5 separate regions of the Homo sapiens genome follow, and regions 2, 3, 4 and 5 are each linked to region 1. Evidence: promoter capture Hi-C in 16 types of primary human blood cells and fetal thymus (Javierre and others, 2016). All regions are on one chromosome and are shown on one strand. Each heading gives the region's core, a stretch centred on a gene start or on the middle of the fragment in contact. The rest is flanking DNA. Distances are from core to core; before and after follow the strand shown.

Region 1 (4,663 bases), core at 894-3,393:
CATAGGTCATTATGTATATTTCTGTAAGATAAATTCCTAGAGGTAGGGTTACTGACTTCAAAGGATTTAGACTAAAGGTGCTTAAAGAGAGAGGTTTCACCTGTTAGTTAGTTTTTGTAGCCAAAACTTGAAAACATCCTTTCTTCCTCTTTTTTCGTACCTATCAATCACCAAGTCTTGCTGCTGTTACCTCCTCAATTTGTTTAAATCTGTCCTTCCTTCCCATTCCTCCCAGCCAACAACTCAATTTAGGCTTTTACTATTTCTTCATGTCTGAAATATCGTCCTCAAACCCATTGTCCTGAGAGAATAATCTGCTCGAACACATTCATGTTGCCTACTACATACATCCAGGATTAAGTCTAATGCCTTTGAATACACAAGGTTCACCTTGATCTAGTCCCTGTGCTTCCCTTTCTCTGGTAGACTTCTCCCATCACCAGCTTCACTCTCTTTGCTTTTACACTGTGGAATAATTCATCATTTCAGGCCTCCTTGCTTTTGCTCTGGCTGACTCTCCAGCTTGGAATGCCTTCATCCATTTCCCTTACTTCACCTTTGTGTTCCTGTGCATTCATCTTTCATAGTGATTGCTATTCTCTACTGAAATGAATTTTTTCAAAATAGCCTGCAATTGCAATAGGCAGTACTTTTTTTCTTTCTTTTTAGCTCTAGCATCTATCACAGTGCTTGTGGTCATGGGGTACATACTCAGTAAAATATCTTTTACTGAACTCAACTAGATCTTGGGGGAAAAGGGGTGGAGTCATTCATTCATTCATTCATTCATTCAACATATGTTTATTGAGAAGCTATAAACATAGGCACAAGGTTATGTGCTAGGTAGTGCGATTACAACCAAGAAGATAACCCAGGGCCTACTTTTGGTCTAGTGAAAGAGATGGAATTAGATGGGTATGGTGGTGTGCACCTGTAGTCCCAGCTACTTGGGAGGCTAAGGCATGAGAATCTCTTGAGGCTAGGAGGGAGAGGTTGCAGTGAGCTGTGATGGTAACACTGTACTCCAGCCTGGGTGACAGAAGAAGACCCTATCTAAAAAAAAAAAAAAAAAAAAAAAAAAAGTAGGGCAACATAAATACACAATTTTAATTTAGGTGGGTAAAGACAACAGTGGACCCCAGGGCACAGTTTAGATTATTTTATGGATATGGATAAACAGAGAAAAGGGTGGTTTTTTTTTTTTTTTTTAAATCTATTTTAGAGACTGGGTCTCACTGTGTTGCCCAGGCTGTTTTCAAACTTCTGAGCTCAAGTGATCCTCCCACATCAGCCTCTTGAGTAGATGGATGGCATTTTAATTAGATGAAATTGTACTAGGAAAGGCATTTGCAAAACAAAGTAATTGCCCCAAATCACTATGAAACCCTAAGTCAGGCATAAAACTCACGATTTCTGACCCTTCTTCATGGCCTATTGCCTCCTATTACCTTTACTTTTTCAAGTAAAGATATTCTTCTGGTAAACACATGGTCAAATACAGTGTCTTGGGTAACGAATAGTAAAGTGAGATAACATATGTAGAGAAAGCGGGTGAGAATCCGTACTCCATAAAAGTATTTTCTTTCCATAGGTGTCTGCTAAACTGCCATCTAAGTTTTCCAAAACAAAAAACAAAAACACTTGTGTGGTGCTCAATGATGTATATTAAGTGAAACCTACCAACTGACCTTTATCCTTTCCTTCCTGTTTTTTTAATATTAAAGAAGAGACCTCTTTTCACAAATGATTGAGGAGGCTAGTAAAATGCAGTGAAAAGAGCAAGTTCTTTGGGAGTCAGACAGCATCGGATCCAGCCCAGAGCGCAGCACGACTAGTAGAGTAACTTAGATTAAGTCCTTAAACTTCCAGTGTCCTCTTTTGTAAACTGGGAATAATAATAATAATAAATAAATAGTGAATAATATTTATGCAAAGTACTTAGCACAGTGTCTAACACATAAAAGCTTAGGAGAAGTTGGCTATTAAGCATTTCTAGGAACCCGAGGACTCAGGGTTGTTATTTTAGTTCTTGGAATCAAAGGAACTTGAAGCGTAGTCATTCCTAAACTAAGTTAAACCAGAACTAGCGCTTTCAGCAATGATGTAATTTGATCTCTTCGGGCCACCGTCGCTGAGCATGCGCAAATAAACGTGGCGGGACGTATGTGTCATGGCGCTCTCCATCTAAAGTCTGTGCAGCTTCCGGAGAGTGGCGGGTTGATTTTCTCACTTTGGACTGGTTTTTACTTCCCGACTTCTGGGTAAGGGTGGCCGATGGGTCCATGTGGGGCAGAGTGTGGCCACAGCTCCTTTTATGGCCAAGCCTTGTTTCTCCAGTTTCAGTTTTTCTTGGGCTGTTTGCAAATTTGTTTCGCAGTTAAAAGGGGATTTGCCAGCTGGGATGGGGGAATTGGGAGGCAGATGGGGCTTCCAGGAGCGAGGATAGGGTCGTTGGCCTCAGGTGCCGCTCTCCAGTTAGGAGTATTTTAGGCACCTCGTTCCTTATTGTCAGGTTTAACTTCATTTGTTCTCCCACTTTATACCTTAGTGAATTTGTAGATGTGACAAGGCTTTCGCAGTTATATAGCTTTCCCAGATCAGTATGTTAAGAATTTAAGCAGAAGTTATTGAGAAAAGCAGGTGTCTTGCTTTTTCACTTTTCGTTCTTCTTTGCTCATAAAACCTTTTTCTGAATCTCGGGACGACAGTTATCTTTCGGATGGAACGTGATCTGGATGTCTATCTACCTTATTGACTTAATCCTGTTTTGTAGTGGTTGGTTACTCGCACTATGCAGACGTGTTGCGGTGCTGAATACAACATTTATTACTAAAGCCAGACACTGGATCACCGTCACGGCAGATGTCAGCACACCTGTTGTAATCAGTAAGAAGTTACAAGTAGTATGGAGCATCATTAATCCTGCTGTATAAAGCAGTCTTTTATGGAGTCTGATTCCTTTTAAGTAAAGAATCCTTACAGTGGTTTTGTGAACTTTTTGGGTGCTTACTTTTCCTAATCAATTTTTATTTTCCAGACTCATCTTTCAAGAGGACTTTAGACTAATTGCAGATAATTAAGGTACTGATTTATTTTAAACCTTTTATGTTTGAGTGCTGTGCGTATTTCTGCATGTTAGAAAATGCAGAGAGGTAGCCTAATGTTTTAGCTATTTGCCACTATCATGTTATGGAAACATTGTGCTTTACATAGCATTAAATCGAAGAGATATTTTCATTTATTTTACTTAACCTTTCATTTTCATTCACCAGCATTGACCATGTCCACTTTTTTGAGATGCCCTTTTCATTTGCCTTCCATGGCCCATGGATTTTTTTCCTTGTCTGGTGGCTGCTTCTTGGAATCCATTATAAGCTGATTTTCCTTTATCTGGCAGTTAAATTTGGAGTCTCTCAAGTCGTGGTCTTGTACCTTCTCCTACCTCTGTTCTCTTTTTCTTCCCCTCTGGGTGATGTAATCCACATGCCTGTCAACAGTTATTTGTCTTTTTGATTCTACCCATCCTAATGGGTATGAAGTGGTGTATTATTGTGGTTTGGATTTCCATTTCCCTGATGGCTCATGATGTTGACATCTTTTCATGTGCTTATCAGCCATTTGTATGTGTGTGTTTTTGAGACACGGCTTCCCTATGCCACCCAGGCCAGAGTGCAGTGGCTCGATTACGGCTCACTGCAGCCTTGACCACCTGGTCTCAAGTGATCCCACTTCAGCCTCCCAAGTAGCTGGGACTACAGGTGCATGCCACCATGCCCGGCTAAATTTTACTTTTTTTTTTTTTTTTGTAGCGATAGGGTCCGTGTTGCCTAGGCTCTGGCCTTGTACTCCTGGCCTGAAGTGATCCTGCCACCTTGGCTTCCCAGTGTTGGGATTATAGGCATGAGCCTCTGCACCTGGCCCATTTCTGTATCTTCTTCATCTAATCTGTTTTTCCTTTTGTTGCTTGTGCTTTTCATTTCTTAGCTAAGAAAGAAGGGCCTACTCTAACATCATAAAGATTTGTGCTTATGTTTTTTTCTAAGAGTTTCATAATGTTAGCTCCTAAATTTAGGTCTATGATCCATTTTCGGTTAATTTTTGTATATGATGTGAAATGTGAAATAGGGCTCCAACTTTATTTTTTACATGTTGCTATCCAGTTATCCCAGTGTCATTTGTTGAAAAAAAAACTACGCTTTCCCCCTTGAATTGTCTAGGTTATGTATATTTGACATACATTCTAGGTGGTTTTTATGAAAGAATAATTCTGGGACAGTGATTATCAAACTTTAATTCAGATCAAAATCACCTAGAGGGCCTGTTAAATATTGCTAGGTTTTACTCAAAATATCTGATTTAGTATGTCTGGAGTGGAGTTCAAGAATTTTCATTTCTGGCTGGGCATGGTGGCTCATGCCTGTAATCCCATACTTTAGGGGCCAAGATGGGAGGAGTTTGAGACCAGCCTGGACAACAAAGCGAGACCTTGTTTTTACAAAAAAACTGAAAAAGAAAAAATGTTCATTTCTAACAAGTTCCCCATGATGCTACTCCAGCTGATGTGGAAACTACACTTTGAAAACCACTGGACATTGCTTTGCAACTGTGGCTGTACACACATGAGAATGACTGGAAAGTTTTTAAAAGATATTGATGCCCAGGC
Region 2 (4,663 bases), core at 1,003-3,502, 4.1 Mb after region 1:
CATAAAATCTTCCAATCAATTTTTTTTTCCCTTTCATTTTTGCTAAAGCCAACATCAAAAATCTAATCAGGTCACAGGCCTTAGAAACACGCTGAAGTTTGCCCCTTCCCCATTTTTCTCTCTTGAGCAAACTAAACTTTAAAACCTCACTCTCATTCATACTTGACCTGAGTTCTGAGAGACAAGAGACCACAGCCTAATCAACACCTTTGCTTGTTTTTGCCAATTTACCATTCCGGGGTAAGAGAATCCTAATAGCCATGACACCATTGATCAGCTTGATCCGCATCTTTTCTGAGGGCCTATTACAGGAAATCCACTTATTTTGTTACTATTTATTGGTTACAATATAGTCTGTTGCAACCAACAGACATTAACTCAGGTTGGTTTGACCAAAACAGGAGAATTTATAAGGAAACAAACATGTCACAGAGCCTGGTACAGAAATACAGCCATGTTTAAGGAAGGGCAGTTAAGGGCTTTCTCTCAATCCTACACTTCAACTTCCCTCTGCTTCATTGTCTCTCTGCAGACCTCTGTTCTCAGCTTCTCTGTACACAAAAAAAGATATGTATGAATCCTCACAGGTGCTAAGTTAACATGTTACAGTTCCAGCTCCATAGGAAGACTCAGACTTGACTCTCTTGGTCCTAATTCTGAAACCAAGGAGAGGATCTGACTGGCCAGTTTGAGCTAGGCAAACACCTCCTAGTCCAACTTGCTCTGGTTAGTAAAACGGGAGCCAGAGACAAATCACTGTGGGTGAGTAAACAATTCCCCAACAAGAGGCAAGACAGAGAAAGGAACCTAAAGAAAATATCTTATCACATCTGTAAGCCAGTGTAGCTGAAAAGACCAAAGGGAAAATAAAGTCTCCACTATGAACAGTCAATTTTACAGGTTGTACATATAGCTGGGAGAATTTTATACATTCAGTAAATATTTATTGGGAGCTTATTATGTGTCAAATGTTGTGTCAGACTTTGGGAAATTAACAATGTACAAAACAGATACTCCTTACTAGATGTGCAGTCTAGTAGGAGACATAAAATAATGAACAGCAATTATAATACGGACTAAGGTATTGTAACAGGGGTCATGCAGGATGCTATAAGAGTACCTAAAAGGGGACTCTTACCCAGACTTAGGACATCAGGAAAAGCTTCCTAGAGATAAATCATGTCTCAGCTTGGGGCTTTAAGACAAATATTAGCAAGGAAGGGAAAAGAAAAAAATTCCAGGCACAGGTAATAAAGATCTTTACGAAGTTTCAAAGACAGGAGAAAATGACCCGTTGGAAAAAAGTAAAAGTTTGATAGGCCTGGAACCTGGAAAGGCAGGTTCTAAGTTATGGAGCCAAATAGTAGAGGGCCTTGTAAGGCAGCTACACTTTTTAAGTGCAGGAACTGGAGAGGGGCACTGAAATAACAGGAGTAGGTGTGCATTAAAAAAAAATAACAACAACAACAAACCTGTTATTCTGGCCGGTCAGCCTAGGGCCTAGAATAAATAAACAATACAGGAAGCAAGGAGACTTCCAAGTTGCCATTTTTCGATAGAAGGTTTAGCCTTCGTTCATTTGTTTCAAACCTCTCGCTTACTTATTTCCTTTCATTTGAGTTAAACATTACATTTCCATCTTTTCCTCCCTGGACCCCAAATCACGTTCGAAGCGACAGTCTGGTGCAGTGTTAGATCCGCTGCTGGGGCGCAACTCCGCGCAGCAGCAGCAACGCAAGCCCTGCTCCTCTGGCTACGCAGCTTGGAGATCTGCCTCAGCATCGTCCGCCCAGCTCCACGGCAGGTCCCAGGACGCGCAGGGCTACCTGGTATCAAACTGCCTCCGTGCGGACTGGCTCCCGCTCCCCTCATCACTTACTAGGTCTTGGGCTCAGAGATGGTTTCAGGTCGGCGTTCCAAGGCGCTCTCCTCCACCGGAGGCTCGAAGTAGGAGTTCAGAGCCCTCTGAAAAACAAAGGCACAAGGGATGAGGTTTGTGCGCTCCACCGACCTAGGTAATGGAGCCGGAAGCGAGGACAGCGAAAGCGTACTTCCATCTCCCAGTCGTTCTCGGCCAGGAAGCACTGAGCCACTGCGGCATCGCAGCTTGCGACCGAGGCAAACTCCACACACAGAAGTCGCCGCTTTTTCACCTCAGGCTCGCCCTCTTCCTCCGCCGCCTCCCTCCCGCCCTCCAGGCAACTCCCCAACTCCATCTTCCTGCCGCCTCTGCACCGCCCCTTTAAGCGGAACAGGAGGCCAACGCGCGGCTCTGCGCAGGCGCCTGTGTCATGGCGCTCCCGCATCAACCGCCCGGCGGGGAAATGCGCTGCTCTCGGAAAACTGGTGCAGCTGCGCCGCAAGGGAGCCGCCGGGGCGGTGGGTGCGAAGCGCGCATGCGCGCTTCGTCACAAGGGTGCGAGGAAAGTCAGTGAGCAAATCGCGGACCACCGGGGCTGCCAGCTCGCCTGACTCCCGGCCTCTTGCGCTCCTAGGGGCGGAGAAGGGTGCGGGCTCTTCGCCCTTTGTGTCCTCCTTCTTTCACTAACTTCTGGACTTTCCAGCTCTTCCGAAGTTCGTTCTTGCGCAAAGCCCAAAGGCTGGAAAACCGTCCACGATGACCAGCATGACTCAGTCTCTGCGGGAGGTGATAAAGGCCATGACCAAGGCTCGCAATTTTGAGAGAGTTTTGGGAAAGGTATGGGAAAGGTAGGGGAGAAGCCGTGGCTTCTAATGAAGGAAAAGAAAGCACCGTGCTTGGTGCCGTTGTGAGCTTTGAATAATTATCTCTTGTTAGGTTGTGTTCTAGTACGCCTGTAAATTCACCTTAGTAATAATGATTATTACTTTAATGGAGCCCCTAAATATGCTGGGTCGAACGCGTAAGTTCTCTATCTAAACATAGATAAGTATGGTTATGACTCGTGGAGACAGTTCCAAGGCTGGGAGGGACTTTGGAGTTTGATCCTTCAACCAACAAACGTCTGCATTGCTCCAGAGAAGAGTAAGAGAAACCTCTGCATTTAAGGCACATTACAGTCTAATTCTCTAGGCTCTAGAAGATTAGAAGATAAATAATTGCAATAAGGTACAAAAGCCAAGTGCTTGGTAGAGTGGTGAACGAAGGGAGAAGTTGTTCCTCTGTAGTGGTTTGGGAAATTTCTCAAAGGCACCCAACTCCTGAAGAAGTAAGTTAGCCCTTGGAGGAAGACTGAGTGCTTTTCTGAGACCAGCACTCACAAAGCCCGAAGGTGTTTGTTTGTTTTTGTTTTTTTAGGATGAGGTTTCGCCCTTGTTGCCTAGGCTGGAGTGCAATGGCGCGATCTCGGCTCACTGCAACCTCCACCTCCCTGGTTCAAACAATTCTCCTGCCTCACTCAGCCTCCCGAGTGGCTGGGATTACAGGCATGCGCCACCATGCCCAGCTAATATTGTACTTTTAGTAGAGACAGGGTTTCTCCATGTTGGTCAGGCTGCTCTCGAACTCCCGACCTCAGGTGAAACGCCTGCCTCCGCCTCCCAAAGTGCTGGGATTACTGGTGTGAGCCGCCACGCCAGACCTTGAAGGTGTTTGTTGTTGTTGTTGTTTTGAGATGGAGTCTTGCTCTGTTGCCCATGCGGGAGTGCAGTGACACGATCTCGGCTCACTGCAACCTCCGCCTCCTGGGTTCAAGTGATTCTCATGCCTCAGCCTTCCAAGTAGCTGGGATGATTACAGGCATGCGCCACCAAGCCTGGCTAATTCTTTATTTTTATTAGAGACAGGGTTTCATCATGTTGGTCAGGCTGGTCTCAAACTGCTGACCTCAGGTGATCCACCTGCCTTGGCCTCCCGAAGTGCTGGGATTACAGGCATGAGCCACCATGCCCCGCCAAAAGCAGGGATTTACTGAAAATGAAAGGACACTCCTGTGTTTGGGGTGTGGAGCAGCAGCTCAGGGGCCCTAATACCCCATTGAAGTCTCCTATTGGCCACTTGGTACTCATCTCATGTAAATGAAGTGGTGACCCACAATTGGCTGTGAAAAGCAACCAATGAAAGGCTAAAGTGAAGTTACAAAGTTGCCCTTATATGCAAACGAAGACGTGGCGTGCAATCAGATGGTGAAGTTACATAGTTACACTCCTATGGGAAGATCTGATTGGTTGCAGAAAGAATAATTTTTTTTAAGGGATAACTTACTTCTTAGCGTAATTTTGCTTTTTGCAACCAATCAGAGGTACTTTCAATTTCCCATCTGCCACACAGAAAAGGTGGGGGTTTGGAAAGGGAGAAGCCTCTGGTTCTTTTGTTACTTGGTGTGGGAAGTTAGGGTTTTACTTTCAATTTAGTTCTAGGAAGTCAGCGTGAAACAGCCCTAGGTTCCCTGCCTCCAGATCCGATTCTCCTGCCTCGCTTGTAAGAAAATCATGCTCCATAAGAAGCATTTATAACTAAACCTTGTGAACCCCAAAAATTTGAGACAGGTATCAGTTAATTTAGAAAGTTTATTTTGCCAAGGTTGAGGATGCGCACGCAGTGACACAGCCTCAGGAGGTCCTGACAACATGTGCCCAAGGTGGTCAGAGCACAGCTTGGTTTTATGCGTTTTAGGGACATATAAGACATCAATCAATATATGTAAAATGAACACTGGTTGGGTTCGGAAAGGCGGGACAACTT
Region 3 (4,663 bases), core at 559-3,058, 3.9 Mb after region 1:
TTGTTAACATAAGAGCTTTTCTTTATAAACTATATAAAATTAAATAACCCCCAGAATTGCGTTTAAAAGTTACCACTGTTATTCATTGTTCTGGAAGAGTTGGCCAATTTAGTTAAGAATACAAAATCAGGGCCAGGCACGGTGGCTCACGCCTGTAATCCCAACACTTTGGGAGGCTGAGGTGGGCATATCATTTGAGGTCAGGAGTTTTAGACCAGCCTGACCAACATGGTGAAACCCCGTCTCTACTAAAAAACAAAAAAATTAGCCAGGCGTGGTGGTGCACGCCTGTAGTCCCAGCTACTCAGGAGGCTGAGGCAGGAGAATCGCTTGAACCTGGGAGGTGGAGGTTGCAGTGAGCCAAGATTGCACCACTGCACTCCAGCCTGGGCAACAGAGCAAGACTCTGTCTCAAAAAAAGAATACAAAGTCAAACGTGAAATACTGAAAGTTAGTTCTTTGCAGGTGAAATAATTGCAAAGAACACTTAAGAAATTCATAAAGCTATGGAATCTGAGAAAGAAAAATTTAATTTGTGCTGTTTGAAATAGTTTAGAAAGTGAGCTGGTTACAAAGTAAATATTTTTTTCTTTATAATTTGTATGATTTAAAAAATTTTTTTAAGTTCCATTAAAGAAAAAAAGGGTACATATAAATATTGAGATGCAAAAATATTCAGCATATGTTGCTAATTTGGAAGGAGGGAGACTGCAAAGCAGTATGTATAAGTATGTTTTATTAGGAAAATGTTTGGAAGGATATTCAGTGAAATATTGACATGGTTTTCTCTAAAATTTGTCATTTCAGGTGATTAATATAGTTTTATGTTACGTATATTTATTTTCAAATTTTCTGCAGTGGGTTTATGTATTTGTGAAATATAAGGCTGAAAGCTAGACTATTACACAAATATAAAGCTTTCTTTGATATAAATTTTCCTTTAATGTTCTATGGAACTTATATATTCATATTAATTTTATTTTTGCTGATGAGAAGCAAGATAAAATATATATATTGTGAGTTTTTATTGTGTGATTAACACAGCATGTATATTTCCATGGTAGTAACCCAAGACCTATATTGTACTTAAACCTGTATGTTGGAGTGTCTTTCTGAAATGTGTCTGTCGTAGTAAGTAGTACAGCTCAGCACATAGTGATTCATTAAATGTTTCACAGCTTCAAACTTGACTGTGGATAAACATCACTGAAAGATAGTCCCCTACTTTGCAGGAAATAGGTGCATTTTCTGTATCAAATCCTCTCTTCAAACTATCAGAAGGGGTTCTGTAAATCTTTATTGATTCTGCAACACCCACCAAAGAGACTTTGGCCTCATGTAGACATTTAGATTCACAAGGCGGGCCATACTTGGTCCCAGTCTACTCAGAAGGATAAGGGACAGGAGAAACAACAGGGTAGTGTTAGGTGTTTCCTCTTCAAAAGAAGTCTTTGCAGCCATCCAGGGGCTTCTCTGGTCCTCTGAGTGATCGCTCAGTGACAAGGAGATAAGATTCTCAAAGGTGGATGTGAGATTCATCTTGGCTCGAATCCCCATGCCCCGTAGTGACAGTATCCCTTGTAACCATCGCAGGGGCACAGTGTCCAGGATTCTGGCTGGGAACATGGCCACAAGAGCCACCACAATCAGGAAAGGGCAAAGAGAGCTATTGCTTTTCACCTGATAACTGTAATTTGTTCGTCTTCCCAGTCCAGTGCAGTCTACCAGTCAATGGTCATTTTTACCATAAGGATTGTTACCTAGTAACAACACAACTGATACTCCTTTATCAACTTTCTAGAGGAACCAAGATAGAAAGTTAAACCCAGGTCTGATTTTTCCTATCAAAGGAAAAAAGGATTTTAAAAAAACCCTTAACTCATAACTGGATTTAATCTAAAGAAGGTCAGTAATGGTTTATATTTGCATTTCAACATTTTGGGGATATTACTTACAATACCATAAATTCTTAACTAAATTAGCAATACCATAAGTAGCATTCTAATTTGAAAGAAAATCATAATTTGTTTTATTCTCTATTTTCAGACAAAATTTGACAAACAGGGAAACGTTACTTCTTTTGGTGAGTGATTAGCATTCTAAATCATTTTTTAAACATTTAATGAGTGAATCTGATAGAAATCAAGAAATTGTAGTATTTTGAGTAAAATATTCTTTGCATATACAGGTGTGTTGAAAGAGATCTTTCTTCAGCATTTGTCCATCAGTCTTAATTGGAGCTGGCAATACTCAGACTGTGTGTATTCTCCCAGAATTGTTTTCTTCTAGCAGGAGCCACTTTTTGCTCTAACAGGCTATTGAAGGAATATTTGGGAGAGCAGAGGCTGGTGTAGAACTGGAGCCCAGAGACACACTCTTTTTCTCTTTTGTCTCTCTTGTTGGCGTCCCTTTCACTGCCCTCATTCATTCTCCTGAAGCATGTTTAAGGCAGAGTCACATAATACCACTGACATTGCAGTGGGTGACAAAAGATGAACAGGGCCATGTCACTGCATGGCAGCCACATGGAACTCTGCTGCTGATGGCTCTCTGTGGACAGCTACTTTAAAAAGTGAGACTAGGCATTACTTTACAGTGTGACTTCAGATGTGAGTTTCACATCTCCCTTGAGAATGAATCAGTCTCAGGTAATAAATTCAGCTTTTCTCATTTTTGTATTAGTCTAAGAACAAAGAAAATCAAGCTTATCTGTTCACATATATAAAATACTGAAGATGATGTTGTAGTAAAAATAGAAAATATAGTTGTGTACAGTTTATATTTAAGAGAGATAACCTGTCTCTAGAGCTGGACATTTATAGGTTCTAATGATGCATAGTTGTGGTTTCTGTATTAGTCTCAAGGGTCTTCTAAGTAGTGAGAAAGTTATGAGGTATAGATAAGAAAATCATTAGTTTGACTCTATTTAGCCCGAGTATGTTTTCTAGGTAAAAATGGATATTAAAAGACTTAATTTTAGTTTTTGTTTCTGGTAGTAACCAAAAATTGTCTTGATGGTGGTGGGAGGACTGCTCTGATGGAAAAATCTAAGCCATTTAATGTATTTGGTTTAGCCCTCTCTGTTTATTTCTTTTATAGAAAGGAAGAAAACTGAATTATACCAAGAGTTAGGTCTTCAAGCCAGAGATTTGAGATTTCAGCATGTAATGAGTATCACAGTCAGAAACAATAGGATTATCATGAGAATGGAGGTAAAATATTTTATTTTCATCTATGTTTCTCCAATACAATCTTATAAAAGTTACCTTCTAACTATCTTGATTAGTATCTAGGTTAAAAGTAATTTTGGAATAGAAATAGCTACCTGAAACATAGGATGTTTTATAGCTTAATATGCTATTATGAGTAGAACTCATTTTATATGGATTATATGCACATGTTCAATAGGCATAACACTGCTGTGTTTTAAGTTGGAAAAGCTCTGACTGTGGTGTTCATTCTCACTGTTGGGATTTACTCTCTAGTTCTGGAAACTATAAGACAATCCTGATTTATAATAGATATATATCCAATTGTGTACAGTTACATGTAATTATAGTATAACCTGAGCTACCAAAAATGTATTCTGGCTTTCTAAATAGCACAGGAATAGACATTAAATTTTATAGCCTTAATTTTTTTTTTGAGATGGAGTTTTGCTCTTGTTGCCCAGGCTGGCACGATCTTGGCTCACTGCAACCTCCACCTCCCAGGTTCAAGCAATTCTCCTGCCTCAGCCTTCTGAGTAGCTGGGATTACAGGCATAAGCCACCAAACCCAGCTAATTTTGTATTTTTAGTAGACATGGGGTTTCTCCATGTTGGTCAGGCTGCTCTGAAACTCCCGACCTCAGGTGATCCACCTGCCTCTGCCTCCCAAAGTGCTGGGATTACAGGCATGAGCCACCGTGCCTGGCCAGTTTAAATTTTTTTAATGGAAAACTTTCTGAAATATATTGTATTTTCCCTTACCTATTCAGAGCATGCCAAATAATAATTTGACTTTCTTTAGTGATTCAGAGTTAATGTGGGTTTCAGTTATTTTGGTGGGCTAATGTTTAGGTTCAAAAATAGATGAATGGTATTGGCCCTGTAGTGGGTATGAGACTTTCTTCAAAGAGTCTTTGATGGCAGATTTTTGTTCATTTTTCTAGAACTAATCAAAATAATAAAAAATGGGCCAGTATTGGTAGCATGTGCCTTTAGTCCCAGCTACTCAGGAGGCTGAAGTGGGAGGGTCACCAGAGACCAGGAGTTTGTGACCAGCCTAAGCAACATAGCAAGATCCCATCTCTAAAAATAAATAAGTAAATAAAAAATACTTTATCAAAAATGAAGCAGTCTTCTCCCATGTGATTTTCTTCAGAAATATTCTCTACTCTTGGAATCAGTAGCTAGCATTCTTCAAAACAGTGTCTCTTTCATGGAGAGACAGACAGGTATGTGAAAAAGCAAATTCAGCAGAATGATAATTGTGTAATCTAACTGGTGGGTATATGGTGTTCACTGCAATCTTTCAACTTTTCTGTATAAAAATTTTCATGAGGCTAGGTTGTGGTGGCTCACATCTGTAATCCCAGCACTTTGGGAGGCCGAGAGGGGTGGATCACCTGAGGTCAGGAGTTCGAGACCAGCCTGACCAACATGGTGAAACCCCGTCTCTA
Region 4 (4,663 bases), core at 1,142-3,641, 3.8 Mb after region 1:
GGCTGCGCGCCGCTCACGCTGTTCCTCCAGCTGCTGTTACCTCTGCGGGCCTCTCTCACCCAAGGGGAACGGAGTTGTTATTTCCCGCTGTTTCCATAGCAACCGCAGCCTCGCGCGGGGAGCGAGTCAGTGAACCAGGCCTGGCTTGCGCCTGGCTCCTTGGGATATGCTGGCTGCGTGGGGCAGAGGCGGAAGAACAGGGGTTTGGAGGAAGAGGGAGAAACAGGTGACATGATCATGCGCTCATTCATCATGCGCTCATTCAGTAAATGGACGCCTGCTGTGTGCAAGGCCCTGTGCTAGTTGGGGCCACGGCGGTGAAAAGGAAAACCTACAAAATTTTGAGTGCCTACCCTGTGCCAAGCTTTACGCCAGGGAAAGGATTTTTTCACTGCCGCAAGAAGGCTAAATGTCTGACTGGCTGTCCAAGAGCCCACATCTGTGCTATTTGTGTAGATTGTTAGCTCTGTCTGAGGAATAACAGGGAGAGGAGTTGTGAGAATAGTAACAGCCCCAGTAAAGAGTCGCTTTGTCCAGTCCAGTCTGGGACATACATATTGTGGCACCAGGAAAATGTTTAAAGAGTTGAAATTTTGCAGCTCATCTCTGCCAGTGTTTCCTTCATTCCTCCTAAGACTTTTCTACCATGTGTCATGTCCAAATTACTGGGTGTTCCTAACTCATCATGTACGAATAAAAAGAACTGCCATTAATTGAACACTATAACCATGGACCAGGCATTATGTAAGGCACTTTATGTAGATTATCTAATATTCACAATAACCTTCAGAGGTAAATATTATTCTTTCCTCAGATGAGGAAACTGAAGGGTAGAGAAATCAAAGACATTTACCTCAGGTCACACACACAGGAATTCAAACCCATTCTAAGGATTAGAAAACGAAAGAGAGAGAGAGAGTTCAAACCCAGTTCTGTCTTATTCCACAAGCTCCATAACCAGTCATATCACTGTGAAAGATGAATGTGTGGGACATTGCAATCTGGAGAGAAACTTTTTTTTTCCTTCGAGATTTCTGTTCTGAAGAAATATTTTTATTAAAGCCATGTAATACATTAATGCTTTGAAAGTTAACAGTTTTCAAACGCAGGAACAAAAAACCAAATACCCGCATGTTCTCACATATAAGTAGGAGTTAAATGAGGAGAACTCACGGACACAAAGAAGGGAACAACAGATACTGGGGCCTACTTGAGGGTGGAGCGTGGGAGGAGGGAGAGGAGCAGAAAAAATAACTGTTGAGTATCAGGCTTAGTACCTGGGTGATGAAATAATCTGTACAACAAACCTCCGTGACACGAGTTACCTATATAACAAATCTGCACATGTACCCCTGAACCTAAAATGAAAGTTAAAAAAAAAAAAAGTTAACAAATTTCAAAAGAAGGCCAAAGAGAACAATACAGGGAGGAAATAGACAAGGGAAATTTTGTGAGCTGCTTGTGGAGAATGCACAGGTTGAGGGATGGATGGGGAAAATACCTGTGAAAATGTGCTACCACATAGGTGAGTAAGACAGAATACTTGTTATGTGGAAATGGAAGGCAATCAATTAAGTAGCCCCCTCCCCAAACAACCTAAAATTCCCTATCATCTATATTAGCCCAGTGTAAAATGAAAATGTGGCCTCTTATTCAAAAATTAAGAATTTTATGTTAGCAACAGCAGAGCATTAAACCAATCATGGGGTCCTTCTTGATGTGGGGACCCTGACGCCAGCCCATGAAGCTGCCCGCATCAAGTCTATGCCTCCCACTGCGGTATCTCCAACCCGGATGTGTCTCCTGAGCTTAGATTCATTTATCCAGATGTCTCTTGGATATGATGTGGTGATAAGTGTTTAACTGCTGGCTTTTAGGAGGGAAGAGAAGGCCTTAATTCATAGCATTTGCCAATCTCTGTAGTTTACTCCAAATATGGCCAATTTCCAGATGCCAGTCTAACATCACTGAAGCCATGAAATGTGCAGTAGCAAGTCATTGTATGGTATTTCCACCATGCAGGCACAGCAGACTTGTGTAACTTTAAGAGCACAGATAGTAGTAAAATGTAGATGGAGATGAGTTTTGAGTATTTATTATCTTTGTTTTCAATGTAATTTATTTAATTGTATATTTATACAATTATTTTTTATTTAATTGCATATTTATACAATTTTTATTTAATTGTATATTTATACAATTATTTTTTATTTAATTGTATGTTTATACAATTATTTTTTATTTAATTGTATGTTGATACAATTATTTTTTATTTAATTGTATGTTGATACAATTATTTTTTATTTAATTGTATGTTTATACAATTATTTTTTATTTAATTGTATATTTATACAATTATTTTTTATTTAATTGTATATTTATACAATTATTTTTTATTTAATTGTATATTTATACAATTTTTTTATTTAATTGTATATTTATACAATTATTTTTTATTTAATTGTATATTTATACAATTATTTTTTATTTAATCGTATATTTATAAAATTACTTTTTAACAATGCCCATGTTTACAATTCCTGAGAATTTAACAGTTGCCTCACACGCCAGAACAAGGCAGTTCCAGGCACACAATTCTCCTGACAGCTTCTCTAGACCATCTAAAAGGCAGCCTAGACTCGAAACGTTCACGGGATCTCAAGTTTTCCTCAAAATCACTTTTCCTATGTTTCCTGTCTCCACAAATGGACCCTCATCTACTCATTTGCTCAAAGCTAGAACATATACATTTCTCTTCTTCACAGAACACATTTAACTGTGGCAGAGGAACAACAAAAACAGTCAGATATTTGCAATCTCTCTCCCTGCTCCAGATGCTTGCTGAATTGGTTTTGGAGCTCTTCTCTCTTGTGCAAAGTCCGAACACTGAGCAAAGTGAGAAGGCTTTAAGAAGCCAGAAAGGTTAGATAAACCCTGATCACGAAGAGCTGAGGTAGAATGAGGAGCGGAATGCTAAGGAATGAGGAGCTTCAGATGGATGCAAGGGAATGTTTGAGAACACACATAGGAAAGGAGGGGAGAGTTTTTGTATTTTAGCTTCTTCCTAAGTATATGAAAGGCATTGAGAATGAGAGAGATGGCCAAAGAAGATTCTTAAAGAAGTGTTGCTGTGCATTAAAAATAATACCACCAGCAGGGCACGGTGGCTCAAGCCTGTAATCCCAGCACTTTGAGATGCTGAGGCAGGTGGATTGCTTGAGCCCAGCAGTTTGAGACCAGCCTGGCCAACATGGCAAAACCCCATCTCTAAAAAAACAAAAAACTAAAAAAATTATCAGGGCATAGTGGCATGCTCCTGTAGTCCCAGCTACTCAGGAGACTGAGGTGGGAGAATCATCAGAGCCTGGGAAGTTGAGGCTGCAGTGAGCCATGCTCATGCCGTTACACTGCAGCCTGGGTAACAGAATAAGACCCTGTCTCAAAAAATCAAAAAGAAAAATAATAATACCAACAAGGCATTTGCTGTTTCCTCAAGAGCCTAGATCTCTGAAATGCTTTCAATTATATATTTCTGCTTAAGCAATATTTATTTTGATGTAATACTGTGCTAAAACCAGACCACATTGCACCCTAGGTTTATAAGGGCTCTTCAACTAATCACCAAGTTCTATCAATTCTATCTCTCAAATATTTTTTAAATCCATCCACTTATCTCCAAACCCATTTCCACATTTTGAATTCAAGGCATCATCATCCCCTAAGAGGTAACCCTGTCTCCAGTTTGCTTCCCTATTATCCATTCTCCACAGAACAGTCATCCTGAAAGGTCGCTGAAAACACAGATCTATCCATTTCACTTTCCAGCTTAAAATTCTTCAAATCCTTATCATTTCTCTTACAGTGAAATCCAATATCATCAACTTTGATGACAAAGCCATAAATATACTACTCTTGTTGCTTTAGTTTCCATCTCTTCTCACGCAAATCTTCCTATGGCTCTCCAAAGTGAAGACTTGTACCATCGCTTCCTTTAAAATCCCTTTGGATGTACTTTACAGCCCCTTATCCCCCCATTCCTATTTATTTGGCTCCTTCCAACTCCCTCTATAGATCAAGTTCCAACTTAAATGTCAGTTCCCCAGGAAATCTTCTCTACCCCACTCCCCAGATCAGGATAAACCCCCAACATATTACATATTTTTTCTCTATAGGTTTTATCAATTATAAGTATAAATTTTTAAATGTTTATTTATTTTTAAAAGATGGGATCTCACTATGTTGCCCAGGCTGGAGAGCAGTGGTTACTCAAAGGCATGAGCATAACATACTGCAGCCTTGACCTCATAGGCTCAGGTGATCCTCCCACCTCAGCCTCCCAAGTAGGTAGGACTACAGGTACAAGTCACCATGCCTGGCTACGTAATTACAAATCTTCATATAATTATATGTTTAATTGTAAAGCTTTATATAATTACATGTTTAATCTTTGTAGAGTTAAATGTTTATATGTATAAATTCCCTAAGGAAAAGGATTGTGTTCATTTTATTCATCAATGTCTTACTAGTACCTAGCACAGAGGCTGGAACATAGTAAGTATTAAATAATTATTTCATGAATGCATAAACAAAAGGAAAATATATTAAGTTTAAAAATTAACCTAAAACTTCAAAAACTGGAAAATGCTCCTGTAGAAGGAAACAT
Region 5 (4,663 bases), core at 941-3,440, 3.7 Mb after region 1:
GTTGTGCTCTAAAGAACAATAATCCCACCAGATGCTCCTCAGTAATAGGGATCCAAAGCAAGTAAAAGCGTGGAATACGTCCATACTAAAGGCTCTGAGAAATCCTGTAGCAGAGACAATGACTTAACTTTGTATCATCCAACATTTCCCAAATTTGTAGTTGAACATGAAACTCATTACCAGAAGCATATATTAAAAGTACATGAAATTGGCCAGGCGCGGTGACTCACGCCTGTAATTCCGGCACTTTGGGAGGCTGAGGCAGATGGATCAGCTGAGATCAGAAGTTCGAGACCAGCCTAGCCAACATGGCGAAGTCCCATCTCTACTAAAAATACAAAAATTAGCTGGATGTGGTGGCGCATGCCTGTAATCCCAGCTACTCAGGAAGCTAAGGCACGATAATTGCTTGAACCTGGGAGGCAGAGGTTGCAGTAAGCTGAGATCAGGCCATTGCACTACAGCCTGGGTGACAGAGTCAGACTCTGTCTCAAAAGAAACAAACAAACATACAAAAAGTGCGTGAAACTACTGCTCAATGGAACCCAACTTAGGAAATGACAGTAAACGCCCTGGGTAAGAGCCTTCAGCTTAACACCATCCAGAAGCTCTTGTCGCCCAGGTTGGAATACAGTGGTGCAATCTCAGCTCACTGCAACCCCTGCCTCCTGGGTTCAAGCAATTCTCATGCCTTAGCCTCCCAAGTAGCTGAGACTACAGGCATGCGACACTATGCCCGGCTAATTTTTGTATTTTTAGTAGAGACAGGGTTTCACCATGCTGGCCAGGCTGGTCTTGAACCCCCGACCTCAGGTGATCCACCCATCTCGGCCTCCCAAAGTGCTGGGATTACAGGCATGAGCCACTGTGCCAGGCCACTTTATTATGTAATTTTAAAGGAAATAAAATCTTGCCCAGTTTCAAAGAAACAATTTGGTATTATCATCCAATTGTATAAAATAAGAATAAATGGGTAGCTTTAAACCTACAAAGCTCAAAGGTATTTTACAGATATTTTATCTTTATCTCCACTGTGATAGCACACTGCATGGTGATTTGCAATAAAGGTTATATCTTATTTTGAAAATAACTAGGGCAATAGAGAAGAATAAAAATAGAGTTCATATACAAAATAGGCCACAGACTACAAAGGAGTCCCAGGGTATCACATAAGTGAGGAAATACTCCTTCCCTGTCTCATAGTGCCAAGCAGTATTTAGTAATTGTCCCAGACATTGGACTAAATACATTTAAGTAGAAATGGCCTATGTTCTTTAGTAGTGTGCTGGTACTTTCTATAAGGACAAAATTAATACAGAGGTCTAAGAAATGACTCAATACCCAGAAGGAAAAAATGTCAATGCTTGCAACATAATTTGGCATTTAGGGATAGTGAATAAAGTCTGGTCATTGAAAGGGAAAAGGTAAATTGCATCTACTTAACCAAGGAAAATTTATTGATAAAGATATAATTATGACTATTGGAAGAAAATGTGTAAGTACTGAGCAATTAGAACAAAGAAGAGAAAATGAAATACTCTGGTGATTAGCAAGGGGTGGAGTACATGGTAGGGACTCAATAAATGTTCACTGAAAAATGAAAGTAGTGACCTAGGAAAGGGGATGGGGTTCCTAAGTCTAGAAAGTCATGAAACATGGGGAAGGAAATTCAGACACAGAGAAAGGCTTGGGTTGCAGAGCTTAAGTCCTAGAATGTTTAAGTAACTGTTTTAAAAAAGGGGATTTGATCATTTGATACAGAAACTAGAGGTCAGCCCCCAAAATATCTACCTTCTTCAAGGTCCCTAAACCCTAGAAAAGAGGGTCTAAATGCTGAAGGCAGTCCCCAGCTAAGATGTGTCAAAATAGAGAAGACCCATTATTACATCAGACTGCTAAAGAGAAAAACGGCTTGTTAGTAATGACTAACTCCGACCACCTAGAAAATAGAAGGGATGAAAATCAATCATCCCCATTTAAAAAGTTAATATGAAATAGTGGAGAGTAGAAGAAGAAACAAACAGGAACTCCCCAAAATCTCCCAGCTAAGCTTCAGGGTCTGCTGTGATACATCAACATTTTTATCACTGAAGGAAGACAGGTCAAAACACACACACGAGAGCTTCCCTCACTTGTCCCTCCACCTCCCCTTTCAAACAGTCACACAGGCACATCCACCTCTTAACCAGCAGCTATGTGTCAGTCTGGCAATTTCCAGAAATCACTAACCATTGATAGATCTTTGACTCTGGGCAAACTGGTTTCTCCTCTTTTCCCCCTCATTCACTAAGCTAGGAAAATGCTGTTTATCCATTCTAAGTATTTGTAAATGAAGCTTACAAAATATCAGATTAGAATGCACCATCAAGATGTTCTAAAGCATGGGTATCAGGAGTGTGCCATTACTCAATGCTTACAGTTTGCAGCCTTTAATTTCAATTGTCACCATAATATAGGTATAATTGACCTACATGCACACACACACATATATATCAACAAATACTGACCCTGTGCTGACTACTCTGTGCGGAATGCTCTGAACATTTATCTGTGTCCTTTACATGTGACCTATGGTCCAGGATCTGCTGATATTCTAAAGGACCGGGCCCTTTCCAGGTTTTATATCACCCCAGGCCTGACAAGGAAAACAGGGAGTTGAAGAGGGAGAAAGGGTAATAAACCCTATGGCTACATCTTCCTCCTCCCTCCACCCTGTCACCCTCTATGATAGGCATCTCACCAACATTCATGACATCAGACACCTCCCTAACCAAGCCCCCATGTGGCCCTTCCTCAGATTCCAGGATGAAATGCTCAGAGTGACCCAATTTCAGCTTCTTTCAGAAAAGCAGATAAATCATGCTTCAGTCTTTGGTATGCCAGAAACTCACCACTGGGGCGGATGCATATTTTATCTGTAGTAAGCTACAGAAAGGTTCAGACCTGGCAGGGCACAGTGGCTTACACCTGTAATCCCAGCACATTGGGAGGCCAAGGCAGGCAGATCACTTGAGCTTAGGAGTTTGAGACCAGCCTGGGCAACATGGTGAAACCCCGTCTCTATAAAAATACAAAAATTAGCCTTGTGTGGTGGCACCTGCCTGTAGTCCCAGCTACGTGGGAGGATCACTTGAGCCCAGGAGGTCAAGGCTGCAGTGAGCCAAGATGGTGCCACTGTACTCCAGCCTGGGTGACAGAGTGAGACACTCCCTCAAAAAAAAAAAAAAAAAAGAGAGAGAGAGAGAGAAAGAAAGAAAAAAAAGAAAAAAAGAGAAAGGTTCAACCTGACCTTGCAGGCAGCAGAATTAAGAAAAGGCTGTGAAACTTGTCAGAGCCCCTGGTAAGGCAAGAAGCAAAGAGGCCCTGCTTAGAAGTAATGGGTAGCATCTATGAAAAGGGAGGCAGGCAAGCCAAACTCTGGAGCTGGGGAAGAAATAAAGATGTGACAATCCCAAACTAATCCTCCTGCAGAGGATCACGCTAATAGAAGAACCTCCGCCCACACCTCAGTGTCCCCACCCGAGTAACTCCAGGTCTGGCTCCTCCAGCTCTGCATTCCTCTCAGACCCAAACCCAGATGGATCCCTGACCTGGAGGCTCTGGCCTACACCAGTAATTCAACAGAGGGCAGTTCTGCATCCTACGACAGCAGGGTAACATGAGTTCTTGGCATTCTAAAGTGGAGCTCCTCATTTGTTTTCCCACTGGAAACACCATTGTACACAGTGGGCAACCTACACAGCATCGGCAGCACAATGCAATAATTAAGATGAATTATGGCTTACATAGAATTTTATGGGGCGCTTGTATGGAAAATGTGATCTGAGTATCAAAATACCTATTTAAAATGAATTTCCGGAATGAAATCTTCCAAAGTTTTGAAAATACCTCTGTAATTCAACACCTCACAAATTTTTCCTTTTGAAAACAAAAAGCGTCTTCAAACTCAACCCTGGGCTACATGAAAAAATAACCCCCAAAAGAATTTACTGCAGAAGTCTCAACCCTATATCAGCTATGAAAGAATGCTTCCCTCATGGCTTCTCTCTATATAGTGAACAAAGTGTTTAAGAGGGCAGGATATAAAAAGAATCCTTTTCGAAAAAGGGCTAGTATTTTACTCCACTCAAATTGAGCCATACGTCTTACTAGTATTCAGCCCACTTTTAATTTTTCAGTCTCTCAGTACTAAAGTAGATAGCAAAGTACACATTTTGAAACTAACTTTTATTAATAGAGTTTAAATTCACAATAAACCTCAAGAAAATTACTAAGACCTCTCGCTGTACTAGAAATTTGTGGCACAATATATCATTCCAATAAGTGGATCATGAAGGTGTGAAAAAATGCTGATCTTAAGAATTTTTATCATACTAGTACTTGATGTATAAAATCTGACCCATATATCCCACAGTACACATTGCCATTGAGATGGGAAGTTGTGATCCACCAAGGGATAGAAAACCTGTATTTCCCTGTCATTGATTCCAGAATTTACAAGGAACTCAAAGAATTCAACAACAAAAAATAATGACAGCCCCATTAAAAAGTGGGCAAAGGACATCAATAGACATTTTTCAAAAGAAGACATAAAAATGGCCAACAAGCATTTGAAAAAATGCTCAATGTCACTAATCATCACAGAAATGCAAATTAAAACCAC

Evidence for each region. Contacts are between HindIII fragments. The CHiCAGO score rates a contact against its expected background, and 5 or more counts as called.
Region 2: the fragment with the promoter of TDP2 here is called in contact with the fragment with the promoter of CDKAL1 in region 1 in 1 of 17 cell types (fetal thymus); the score reaches 6.6 in fetal thymus.
Region 3: a contact is called between a fragment that was not itself captured here and the fragment with the promoter of CDKAL1 in region 1, in 2 of 17 cell types (M0 macrophages and non-activated CD4 T cells). The highest score is 8.5, in M0 macrophages.
Region 4: a contact is called between a fragment that was not itself captured here and the fragment with the promoter of CDKAL1 in region 1, in 1 of 17 cell types (fetal thymus). The highest score is 5.4, in fetal thymus.
Region 5: a fragment that was not itself captured here is called in contact with the fragment with the promoter of CDKAL1 in region 1 in 1 of 17 cell types (endothelial precursors); the score reaches 6.8 in endothelial precursors.

Annotation. Positions count from the first base shown.
Region 1 is chr6:20,532,314-20,536,976 of GRCh38, forward strand. CDKAL1 (CDKAL1 threonylcarbamoyladenosine tRNA methylthiotransferase) reads left to right here and starts at 2,144. Exons shown (of 16, transcript NM_017774.3): 1 at 2,144-2,261; 2 at 3,038-3,081. RefSeq lists enhancers at 2,073-2,232, 2,263-2,342. The HindIII fragment of the contact is 2,844 bases long and covers 1,963-4,663 here.
Region 2 is chr6:24,664,647-24,669,309 of GRCh38, forward strand. It overlaps TDP2 (tyrosyl-DNA phosphodiesterase 2), which reads right to left and starts at 2,253. Exons shown (of 7, transcript NM_016614.3): 1 at 2,052-2,253; 2 at 1,880-1,965. The coding sequence starts at 2,216. ACOT13 (acyl-CoA thioesterase 13) reads left to right here and starts at 2,431. Exons shown (of 3, transcript NM_018473.4): 1 at 2,431-2,698. The coding sequence starts at 2,618. LOC124901279 (a long non-coding RNA gene) reads right to left here. Exons shown (of 2, transcript XR_007059509.1): 2 at 4,471-4,663. RefSeq lists enhancers at 1,299-1,971, 1,972-2,643, 2,175-2,469. The HindIII fragment of the contact is 8,130 bases long and covers 1,161-4,663 here.
Region 3 is chr6:24,406,362-24,411,024 of GRCh38, forward strand. It overlaps MRS2 (magnesium transporter MRS2), which reads left to right. Exons shown (of 11, transcript NM_020662.4): 3 at 2,047-2,083; 4 at 3,100-3,212. Among named protein-coding and RNA genes, the nearest start is that of MRS2, 5.8 kb to the left of the region's middle. The HindIII fragment of the contact is 1,787 bases long and covers 916-2,702 here.
Region 4 is chr6:24,360,060-24,364,722 of GRCh38, forward strand. It overlaps a transcript of DCDC2 not described here. Among named protein-coding and RNA genes, the nearest start is that of DCDC2, 4.3 kb to the left of the region's middle. RefSeq lists enhancers at 1-313, 147-236 and a silencer at 1-6. The HindIII fragment of the contact is 4,058 bases long and covers 363-4,420 here.
Region 5 is chr6:24,267,995-24,272,657 of GRCh38, forward strand. The region is part of intron 7 of DCDC2 (doublecortin domain containing 2); the gene reads right to left. Among named protein-coding and RNA genes, the nearest start is that of KAAG1, 87 kb to the right of the region's middle. The HindIII fragment of the contact is 285 bases long and covers 2,049-2,333 here.